2 separate regions of the Homo sapiens genome follow, and region 1 is linked to region 2. The links are contacts of gene promoters, found by promoter capture Hi-C in blood cells and fetal thymus (Javierre and others, 2016). All regions are on one chromosome and are shown on one strand. The core of a region is centred on a gene start or on the middle of the fragment in contact, and the rest is flanking DNA. Distances in the headings are between cores, read along the strand shown. Region 1 holds the start of UGT1A1 (UDP glucuronosyltransferase family 1 member A1). Region 2 holds the start of UGT1A6 (UDP glucuronosyltransferase family 1 member A6).

Region 1 (4,537 bases), core at 2,034-4,533, 67 kb before region 2:
ACCAACCAGTAGAAATCCGGAAAAAGGAGAATGGCAAAGTCAACTAAACATAAAGTAAACTGAGAGAGTTACAATCAAATCTATTAATTGTTAGATTCAAATAGGCAAAATGCACTTATTAAAGCAACTGCCTGACTGGATTAAAAATACCAGTGCCATGTTGTTTAAAAAGGAAGAAAGCTTGAAGACAAAGGAGTACTAAAGATGTGCTAGGGAAATGTAAACAAAAATAATACAGAAGTGGTAATATTAATATCCAAAAAGTGGAATTTCAGATTAAAACATGCAACAAGACAAAACAGGTTACTAAAAGGTACAATTTAAAAACATATTTTCACACCTAAGCCTGACTGCACCAAACAAGGCAACAACAAATATGTAGTCAACACAGTTCACCACTTAGACTTTTATGGTTATATCAATAAATGCCAGAAAGGCAGCTGATAAAGTTCGGTGCCTCTCCTACAAACATCCTCACGCAAAGAAGGAAATTATCTAAATCAATAAAGCCTGTTCAGAAAACAATGGCTAACATAATGCAAAATAATGAAATGATAATCAATTTCCACTAAAATAGCAGCAAGACGGGCATCTTTCCTATTGCCAGAATTATTCAACTGTTTTTAGAGATTCTAATAAATTCAATAGCCCTGATATTTGGCATGGAATTTATAAGAGAAGAAACCAAAATTTCTTTATCAGCAAATGACTGCCTATTATTTTTTATTATGAAAATCAATATTTTGATGAGATAGCTGAGTAATGAGTAGATAATCAGCTAGAGATAGAAATGCAAAAAAATAACACATTCACAGTAGTGACCAAAAAAAAAAAACCGTGTAAAATACTTAAGAAAAGATGAATGAGAAAGAAACAGAACAAATGTTTTTTAAACTACAAAATAGCTTATCTTTTTAAAGGAAGTGTTTGAGGTCACAACAACAAAACTCCTGGAATACAAATTGTAATGTTCCTCTGTGGGGAACTAGACTAGATCTCCAGCAGAATACACTGTGGTACACAAGTACCATGAAATACTATTTCATAGTTTAAAAAGTAATAGCATTTAAAACTGGAGTGATATCCATGACATTATCGGTAAGTGGGCAGTGGGAATACACTGTTACTCTATTTTGTAGAAAAAGCAACCAAAAAATTTTACATATGTTTCTATATACATATTGGTATGTAATAGCTGGAGTACAAAGAACTAAAAAGAGCTATTGTGGATTACTCTCGACCCATTAACTAGACCTCGGTTGGCACCTTTCTTCTCATTCATTAATGTAACACATATTCGGTGGGTGCCTATTCTGTGCCTTAGGTGCTGAGATTTATGGGGCGCCAAATACATGCAGACCCATTGGCAGGTGTTGAGGACGCCGCATACAGTGGATGTGATTAATGCAAAGTCACACAGGTCCCCACATGGCTCATGATGTGAAGCGGACAATCAACAACTATCTAAGTGAAATGGCTGCCATATTTGATGTGCTATGAAGGAAAATGCACAGAAAATTAAAAAAAATAAAATACAAATCACATTGGAGGTATAGTGGAAATAAGGTCACCTCCGAAGGTGATATCAGTCCCCTTAATGGGAGCCAGACGCAGCACCTGGGAAGTGCCTGGGCTGCCAGTAGATCCTCAGCCAATCTTTGCAGGATAAGTGAATGAACGCTCTCTGAAATGTCACCTCCTCAAAGAGTAATTCCCTAACGCTCCATCTGAAGGAGCCTCTCCTGTTCTTTTCTATCCTCTGCTGAGATTTCGATGAGGATGTGAATGCTACTTTTTGCATACTTCAAACTCTGTAGGGGAAAAATAAACCTAATAGCTTGAGAATGAAACCTACAACCTTTCTGTATCATGTCAGAACCTGACTGTCTGGTGATTCACTCATTAGAAGAGAACGGACTGCAGGATTTAGCTTCTTATCAGAATATTTAGAAACTGGAGCTTTAACCAGGGTCACAAAGGCAACTTTCATTTCCAGGATCTATCATCATCAAAGAATGATTTCATCAGTCCTGAACATTGCCTGCCTGACTGAATCCAGGGCAAGGTGCAGGCTTCAACTGAGTTTTCTGCAGGGTGCCCCAAACCCAGCATTCTGTGCCTATGGCATTTAACAGCTTGTTGTTTCTAATTGATTACTATCCACTGGAGCACACAGAGTAAAATGTCCAAGGAATGCTTTCCCGAAATCTCAGATACCAAGAAATCATCCAGAAGATGATGCCAAAGACAGACTCAAACCTAGGAGTCAAAAATTAACAAAAGAGGGCATTTTAAATTATCTCAGAATGCTTGCTCAGCATATATCTGGGGCTAGTTAATCGATCCAAAGTAATACATCTGAAAGAATATACGCATGTAAAAGTCCCACTCCAATACACACCTGGGATAGTGGATTTTGGTGAAGGCAGTTGATTCCACCAACAAAAACCATATTGGGCATGATGGGCCTAGGGTAATCCTTCACAAAGTCACTTCTAAACAGCCAGACAGATGCAGAGCTCAATAGGTCCTGGACAGTCACCTCTCTCTGAAGGAATTCTGAGGCAAGGGTTGCATACGGGGAATAAACCACGTCGCACAGAAAGTTCTGTGAAAAGGCAATGAGCATGTTCTTCACCCGCTGCAGGAAGGTCATGTGATCTGAATGAGAGGAGAGAGGCCTGGGCACGTAGGAGAATGGGTTGGGGCACTGGGTAGCCTCAAATTCCAGGCTGCATGGCAGTGCATGCAAGAAGAATACAGTGGGCAGAGACAGGTACTGGGCCACGATGGGGCTGCAAGGAAGGAAAGGGTCCGTCAGCATGACATCAAAGCTGCTTTCTGCCAGGGAGGCCATGAGCTCCTTGTTGTGCAGTAAGTGGGAACAGCCAGACAAAAGCATAGCAGAGTCCTTTTTTATTTTCTTGTATGTTTTGATCACACGCTGCAGGAAAGAATCATTCTCAAAAACATTATGCCCGAGACTAACAAAAGACTCTTTCACATCCTCCCTTTGGAATGGCACAGGGTACGTCTTCAAGGTGTAAAATGCTCCGTCTCTGATGTACAACGAGGCGTCAGGTGCTAGGACAACTATTTCATGTCCCCTCTGCTGCAGCTGCTGGATGGCCCCAAGCATGCTCAGCCAGTGGCTGCCATCCACTGGGATCAACAGTATCTTCCCAGCATGGGACACCACTGGGCCCAGCACACACAGCAGCAGGCCCAGGACAAGTGGGCGTCCGCCCTGGGACTCCACAGCCATGGCGCCTTTGCTCCTGCCAGAGGTTCGCCCTCTCCTACTTATATATATATATATGGCAAAAACCAATCGATACACCAAGTTAATGTTTGACTGTGTCACGTGACTATAAAAAGCTGTCAGTCCACAAAGGTAGCAGGGAGTTCACTTTCAGAGATAAAGAAGGTGGAGCTTTATTAGGTTTCTTAATAGGCAACAACAGTTGAACTGGCTGGAATTTCATACTCAAATCACATTCTTGAGTGAACACAGCAAAGTACTTCCAGAACCTCAGGATCCATTAAATTAGTATTTCCACAGACCAACAAGTGTTACCAGAGAGGAAGAAGGACGACTATGTAGTGAACAAGTTAGGCTTCTTTTCCAGAAATTAAACAGAAGGCTTTTTAGAAAGCCTTTTAGAAAGAAAAGAACACAACTGTACCCCCGCTTTCGCCATGGAAACCTGTAAGAGTGCCCACTCCACAGCTCCCCCGGTACTGCCTGCTCACTTGTATCATGTGTTTCATTCCTTCGTCCAACAATATTTATTGAGTCCAGCACAGTGTGGGGTCTTGAGGCTGCAGCAGAGCCCACCACACGAGCACGCGCCATGAGGTGAGCCAGACTCACAATTTAAACACATGAGCAGGAACTTAGAAATCGTGAAGCATGCTAAGAAGGAAATGAACAGGTGGGTGGGTGGGGCGGGTCGGGGGTGGGGGGCGTGCTGGGGTAGAGAATGACCAGAAAGGGAAATTCACTGGAGCGCATGTGAACAGAAGTCTTCCCCAAGGACAGGCCTTTATTAGTGTGAACCTGAAAGAGCCAGTCCTGTAAGATAGATCTTGAGTGGCTAACTGGGCCTGGATTTAAAATAGAGCCAACTGGCCCTTTGCTTACTACAGGTCACACGGTTACTCTGAGTATCCTGAAAACCTGTACCTTTTTATAGTTGAGATTTTCAGCGCTCACCTGAACCAACCAATTAAAGCTCACCCACCTCAGCCACTCAGGGCTCAGCTTCATCAACCAATCAGAATGCAGCTGCAGTGACCAATAAGAACTAAGCAAGTTTCCATCCTTCATTTGCATAAATGGACCTGATTGGGAACCTGGGAAGGAACTTTTTGCCGTGAAACCTGCCTGCCTTGTGTTCTGTGGAACTCACCTTCATTGCGTACCAGAGGCTGTAACTCCCTGGTTTGCAAACTGTTCACTAGAACAAAGTCTCTTTCTTCCAAATTCCTTTTCAGAGAACTTTTGTTCACAACAGGAAACCAAATAGATAAGCAA
Region 2 (4,610 bases), core at 1,550-4,049:
GGCACAGAAAGACAAATACCACATGTTCTCATTTATATGTGGAGCTAAAAAAGTGGGTCTCATGGAGGTAGAGAGTTCATTGGTAATTACCAGAAGGTGGAAAGGGTAAGTAGGGAAGGGGGGGTGAAAATGGTTGGTTAAAATTTAAAAAAGAAAAAGAAAAAAGAAATAAAATTTGTAATACTCCAAAAACTTTGATAGAAAAGAGAAAAACATCTAAAGGGCCAATAAAGCACGTTGATCAAAAAAAAAAGAAGAAGAAGAAGGCCGGGCGCGGTAGCTCACGCCTGTAATCCCAGCACTTTGGGAGGCTGGGGTGGGCGGACCACGAGGTCAAGAGATTGAGACCATCCTGGCCAACGTGGTGAAACCCCGCCTCTACTAAAAATGCAAAAATTAGCTGGGAATGGTGGCACATGCCTATAGTCCCAGCTACTCAGGAGGCTGAGGCAGGAGAATCGCTTGAACCCAGGAGGTGGAGGTTGCAGTGGGCTGAGATCGCACCACTGCACTCCAGCCTGATGACAGAGTGAGACTCTGTCTCAAAAAAAAAAAAAAGAAAAGAAAAGGGTTGGTTAATGGGCACAAAAACACCATTAGATAGAATGAGTAAGTCCAAAGTGCGATAGCACAGTAGGGTGACTATGGTTAACAAGAATGTATACTGCAGTTCAAAATAGCTAGAAATGAAGAATGGGAATGTTCCCAACATAAGGAAGGAATAAATGTTCAAGGTGATGGATATCTCAATTACCCTGATTTGATCATCGCACATTGTATACGTGTATCAAAATATCACATGAACCCCCCAAATGTGTACAACTATATTATGTCCCAATTAAAAGAATCCTGACATTCTATGTTTTTATTTCATGCCCCAGAATCCCTGGAACCATTTCAGTTATCCCCATCCCCTCACCCTTGCCTTTTCACAGTGGCTACTGCCAACTGTTCAAATTGTTAACAGAGAAATCAGCAGGTGTAAAGAAGAGAGGTAAGGGTCTTTGGGACCTGTTTGAGGCTTTCTCTCTGATAAAAAAGGAACTGGAAAAGAAAATTGAGGCATAAAAGATAGAGGGAGTTGCCTGAAGCCCTTCAAAGTTGTAAATATTTACATTGAAATTTAAAACTCACAGATTTTTATTTTCCAAAGTAACTCTGGGCCCTTTTCCTACATGTCAGGAGGGCATCTGTAAACACTTGTCTTAGGTCAGAGGCCATACCCCTTTTGCTGAAAAGGCCAGTCAGTAAATGTGTAGGCTTTGCAGACCAAATACTTCTGTGGCACATATTCTTCATTGTTAAATTGTTTTAAAACTACAAAAACCATTCTTAGCTCTGGGCCATATAAAAACAGGTCTCAACATAAAAGGAAAAAAAAAAACAAAAAACAGGCCTTTGGGCAGATTGGGCTCACAGGCTGTAGTTCGCTGGTCCCTGGCTCAAGGTCCAGAGACAAAGCATGGGACAGAGTTGGGAAAATGGATTTTAACCTGGACCTGTTCCCTTAGTCAAGCCTTCACCTCTGTTTGAACTGGGACATTTCTAAGGCTCATTCAATGAGTATGTGACTGTCCCAGATTATCCAACTAAGCAAATCTCCTACTCTTGCCAAGCATGAGCCCTGTCTTCATCCGAATGCCTCTGTATCACTTCAGCCTCAGGTCTCCTATGTGTTCCCGCTGCTCCGAGCCGGGTATCACTTCCCCCCACCGTTTCTCCAGGAAATCCTCCAAGGGACAGTCGGCTCAAGGAGCCAAATGAGTGAGGGAGGACAGAGCCTGGAAGAAACAAGGCAGTCCAAAAGAAATAAACCCACCAACCTGAGACAAGTCTTTCCTCTTCTTACAGTTGATACCTCCAATGAAGACCATGTTGGGCATGACCGGCCTAGGATATTCAAGCACAAAGTCATATCTTAACAGCCAAACAGAGACCTTCTGATATAAGGTGATTATATCCACATCTCTCTTGAGGACAGCTGATGCGAGTTCTTCATACTTTGAAAACAGACAATAAAATAGATAGGGCTCCAACAAATTAACAAGGAAGTTGGCCACTCGTTGGGAAAAAGTCATGTGGTCTGAAAACTTTGTGTAGCACCTGGGAATGTAGGACACAGGGTCTGGGCTTCTGCTGAATGTATGCTCCAGGGAACACGGAAAACCCCTGAAGAGGTACACAGATGGTAGGCCCAAATACTCAGCCAGGATCACCCCACAGGGTAAGGCTGGGTCTGTGAAAAGAGCATCAAACTTGCTCTCCTTAAAGAAGTTCAGGGTGTCCCTGTCCTGCAGGAGGCTCTGGCAGTTGATGAAGTACAGGCCAATAACAATCATGTTATTCCTGTACTCTGTCTGAGGAGCAGTTAGGAATGATCGCTCAGCAAAGTGATTGTTTCCAAATGATTGGTAACGGTTCTTCAGCTCTTCTTGGTCATACGGCACTGGATAGATTTTTCTTGTGTAGTATTTGGATTCTTTCAAAAGCAAATTAACTTCAGGCACCACCACTACAATCTCATGACCCCGGTCACTGAGAACCTCAACTATATCCTTCATACTAAGCCAGTGGCTTCCGTCCTGAGGGACCACCAGCAGCTTGTCACCTACAACCATGCCCCAAAGTGCTAAGAAGAAAACCCCTGCAGAAATTCTCTGAAATGAGCGAAGGAGGCAGGCCATCCTGGAAAGAGTTAAAGTAACAACGGTAATAAAGAGTTTTCACTCTCCAAATCACAGGGCTCCTAGGTATTTTCCCTAAACTAACCACTGCTTTTCACAGGTCCTGTCTACCTCTCCCTTGCTCTGAATTTTACCCTTTGATATGTAAGAACCCAAATTAATATTTAACCATTTTAATCACATGGTTAATATGAACCAACTATGGCCGTGTCAGCTTTCACCTGAGCTTCTGGGTGTTTCTCTTCAGCTCCACAAGTCTGCTTCTCCCTCTCTGAAAAGTTATAGCAACACTTTGAAGATGACTTGGAGAGACCCCTGAGGACCCCCTGCCAATTCTCTATCCCGAACTTGCTGGATTCCTCATCATTGACGTTGTCTGTTATGTCCATGATGTGCGGGAATTTTTCTTGCACACGGACCTATTCTCTAACACCAGCTGGGTATCCTACAATTCAATTCCATTCTGAACTGAATTCTGAGTTAGCACGGACCCCACAGGTTAAGGGCTCAGTCCTACAAGACTGCCCTCACTTCAGACACCAATTGCAAGTAGTAGGTCCCCAGGTTACCCACAACTTCTGTCTGACTTGGCAAAAATCAGAGGTTCACACACCCTCTTTCTTGGAGTCAATCATTTGCTAGAATGGCTCACAGAACTGAAGAAAACAGTTTATTTACTAGGTTTGGTTTATTACAAAGGATATTGCAAACAATACGGATGAATAGCCAGAGGAAAAAGTACAAAGAACAAGATATGGGGGTATGGCCATGGAGCCCCATCTGCCATCTCTGGGTGCCCCACCCTCCACACCTTCAGCAACCTGAAAGCTCTCTGAACCCTGCCCTTCTGAGTTTTTATGTAGGCTTCCATACATAGTAGGCATGATTGATTAGATTGTTGCCCATCGGTGATCAAATCAATCTTCAATCTCTCTCTCCTTTCTTCCCTCTAATCGCAAGGGTTTTGTTCCCTGGCAACTAGCCCTCATCCTTAGAGACTTTACATCTCCTTTACATAAACTTAGGTGTGATCGAAAGGGATCTGTTTTGAATAACAAAAGATTCTTTGTTCACGTTTATCGCTCCCACCACTTATGGTTTCAGGAGCTGTGTCCAGGAAACAAAGACAAACATATATTTCTTATTATACATCACAATATAACAACATTCAAACTGTTACTTGCCTTTAGGAAATTAAGATTTGAGAAGTATAAGTCTAGCCAGTACGTGGTGAGAATCCTAGAGCAGGAGTCAGAAAGCCTGGTATCTGCTTCTGGCCCAGCCACCCATCTGCCAGGGGAGTGACTCCTCTCCTGAGCTTCAGGTTTCTCAACTGAGGCCCAGAAAGGGAGGGTCACACTGGCCCTGCCTGCTAACCACACTGCTGAGGGCGGTCCCAGAGCAAGACCTGTGTAGAAACTAGGCTGTCCCAGTGAGAGGTGGTACCTTGAATTACTAGAACAGACTTGCCCAGAGCTAGTCATGCACACCTGGCTGGCACGCGAGTTCCTGTTCCCACCCACAAGTTTGGCACCGGAGGTGTTCTGGGGCCCAGGAAGGGAGAAGAAGCCTGAGCAACATGATTAGAGGGGCCACTCCAAGGACAGGGCTGGCCCCCATGGGGAACATAACCAGGATGCAAATTCATTGTTCAAGGCATGCGAAGACTCAGCTCAGTCCAAGCTGGGAGCAGCCTCCCAAGAGGATTGGCAGCTTACAATGATCAAAGTCATGGGGGCGGCAGCATCTTGCTTTGAGTTCATCTAGATAGCAATAAGACTCCAGGAAGGTTGCAAAGGGAACAGAGCTCAGGTCCACCTTCTTGAGCAGGCAGACATTAGGCAGGTTTCCTTCAAAGAACAGTTCATCTAGAGGAAGAATGGCTTAAGCAAGCATGTAGGAATAGCGGGATCAAGAGATGCTACA

The links. Contacts are between HindIII fragments. The CHiCAGO score rates a contact against its expected background, and 5 or more counts as called.
Region 1: the fragment with the promoter of UGT1A1 here is called in contact with the fragment with the promoter of UGT1A6 in region 2 in 1 of 17 cell types (neutrophils); the score reaches 8.2 in neutrophils.

The regions. Positions count from the first base shown.
Region 1 is chr2:233,759,016-233,763,552 of GRCh38, reverse strand. UGT1A1 (UDP glucuronosyltransferase family 1 member A1) reads right to left here and starts at 3,283. Exons shown (of 5, transcript NM_000463.3): 1 at 2,402-3,283. The coding sequence starts at 3,265. All of the region lies in intron 1 of UGT1A8 (UDP glucuronosyltransferase family 1 member A8), which reads right to left. The region is part of intron 1 of UGT1A10 (UDP glucuronosyltransferase family 1 member A10); the gene reads right to left. The region is part of intron 1 of UGT1A9 (UDP glucuronosyltransferase family 1 member A9); the gene reads right to left. It also overlaps UGT1A7, UGT1A6, UGT1A5, UGT1A4, UGT1A3 and UGT1A. RefSeq lists a silencer at 3,672-3,846. The HindIII fragment of the contact is 5,043 bases long and covers 183-4,537 here.
Region 2 is chr2:233,691,079-233,695,688 of GRCh38, reverse strand. It overlaps UGT1A6 (UDP glucuronosyltransferase family 1 member A6), which reads right to left and starts at 2,799. Exons shown (of 5, transcript NM_001072.4): 1 at 1,824-2,799. The coding sequence starts at 2,684. The region is part of intron 1 of UGT1A8 (UDP glucuronosyltransferase family 1 member A8); the gene reads right to left. The region is part of intron 1 of UGT1A10 (UDP glucuronosyltransferase family 1 member A10); the gene reads right to left. All of the region lies in intron 1 of UGT1A9 (UDP glucuronosyltransferase family 1 member A9), which reads right to left. It also overlaps UGT1A7 and UGT1A. RefSeq lists enhancers at 3,447-4,053, 4,054-4,610. The HindIII fragment of the contact is 26,798 bases long and covers 1-4,610 here.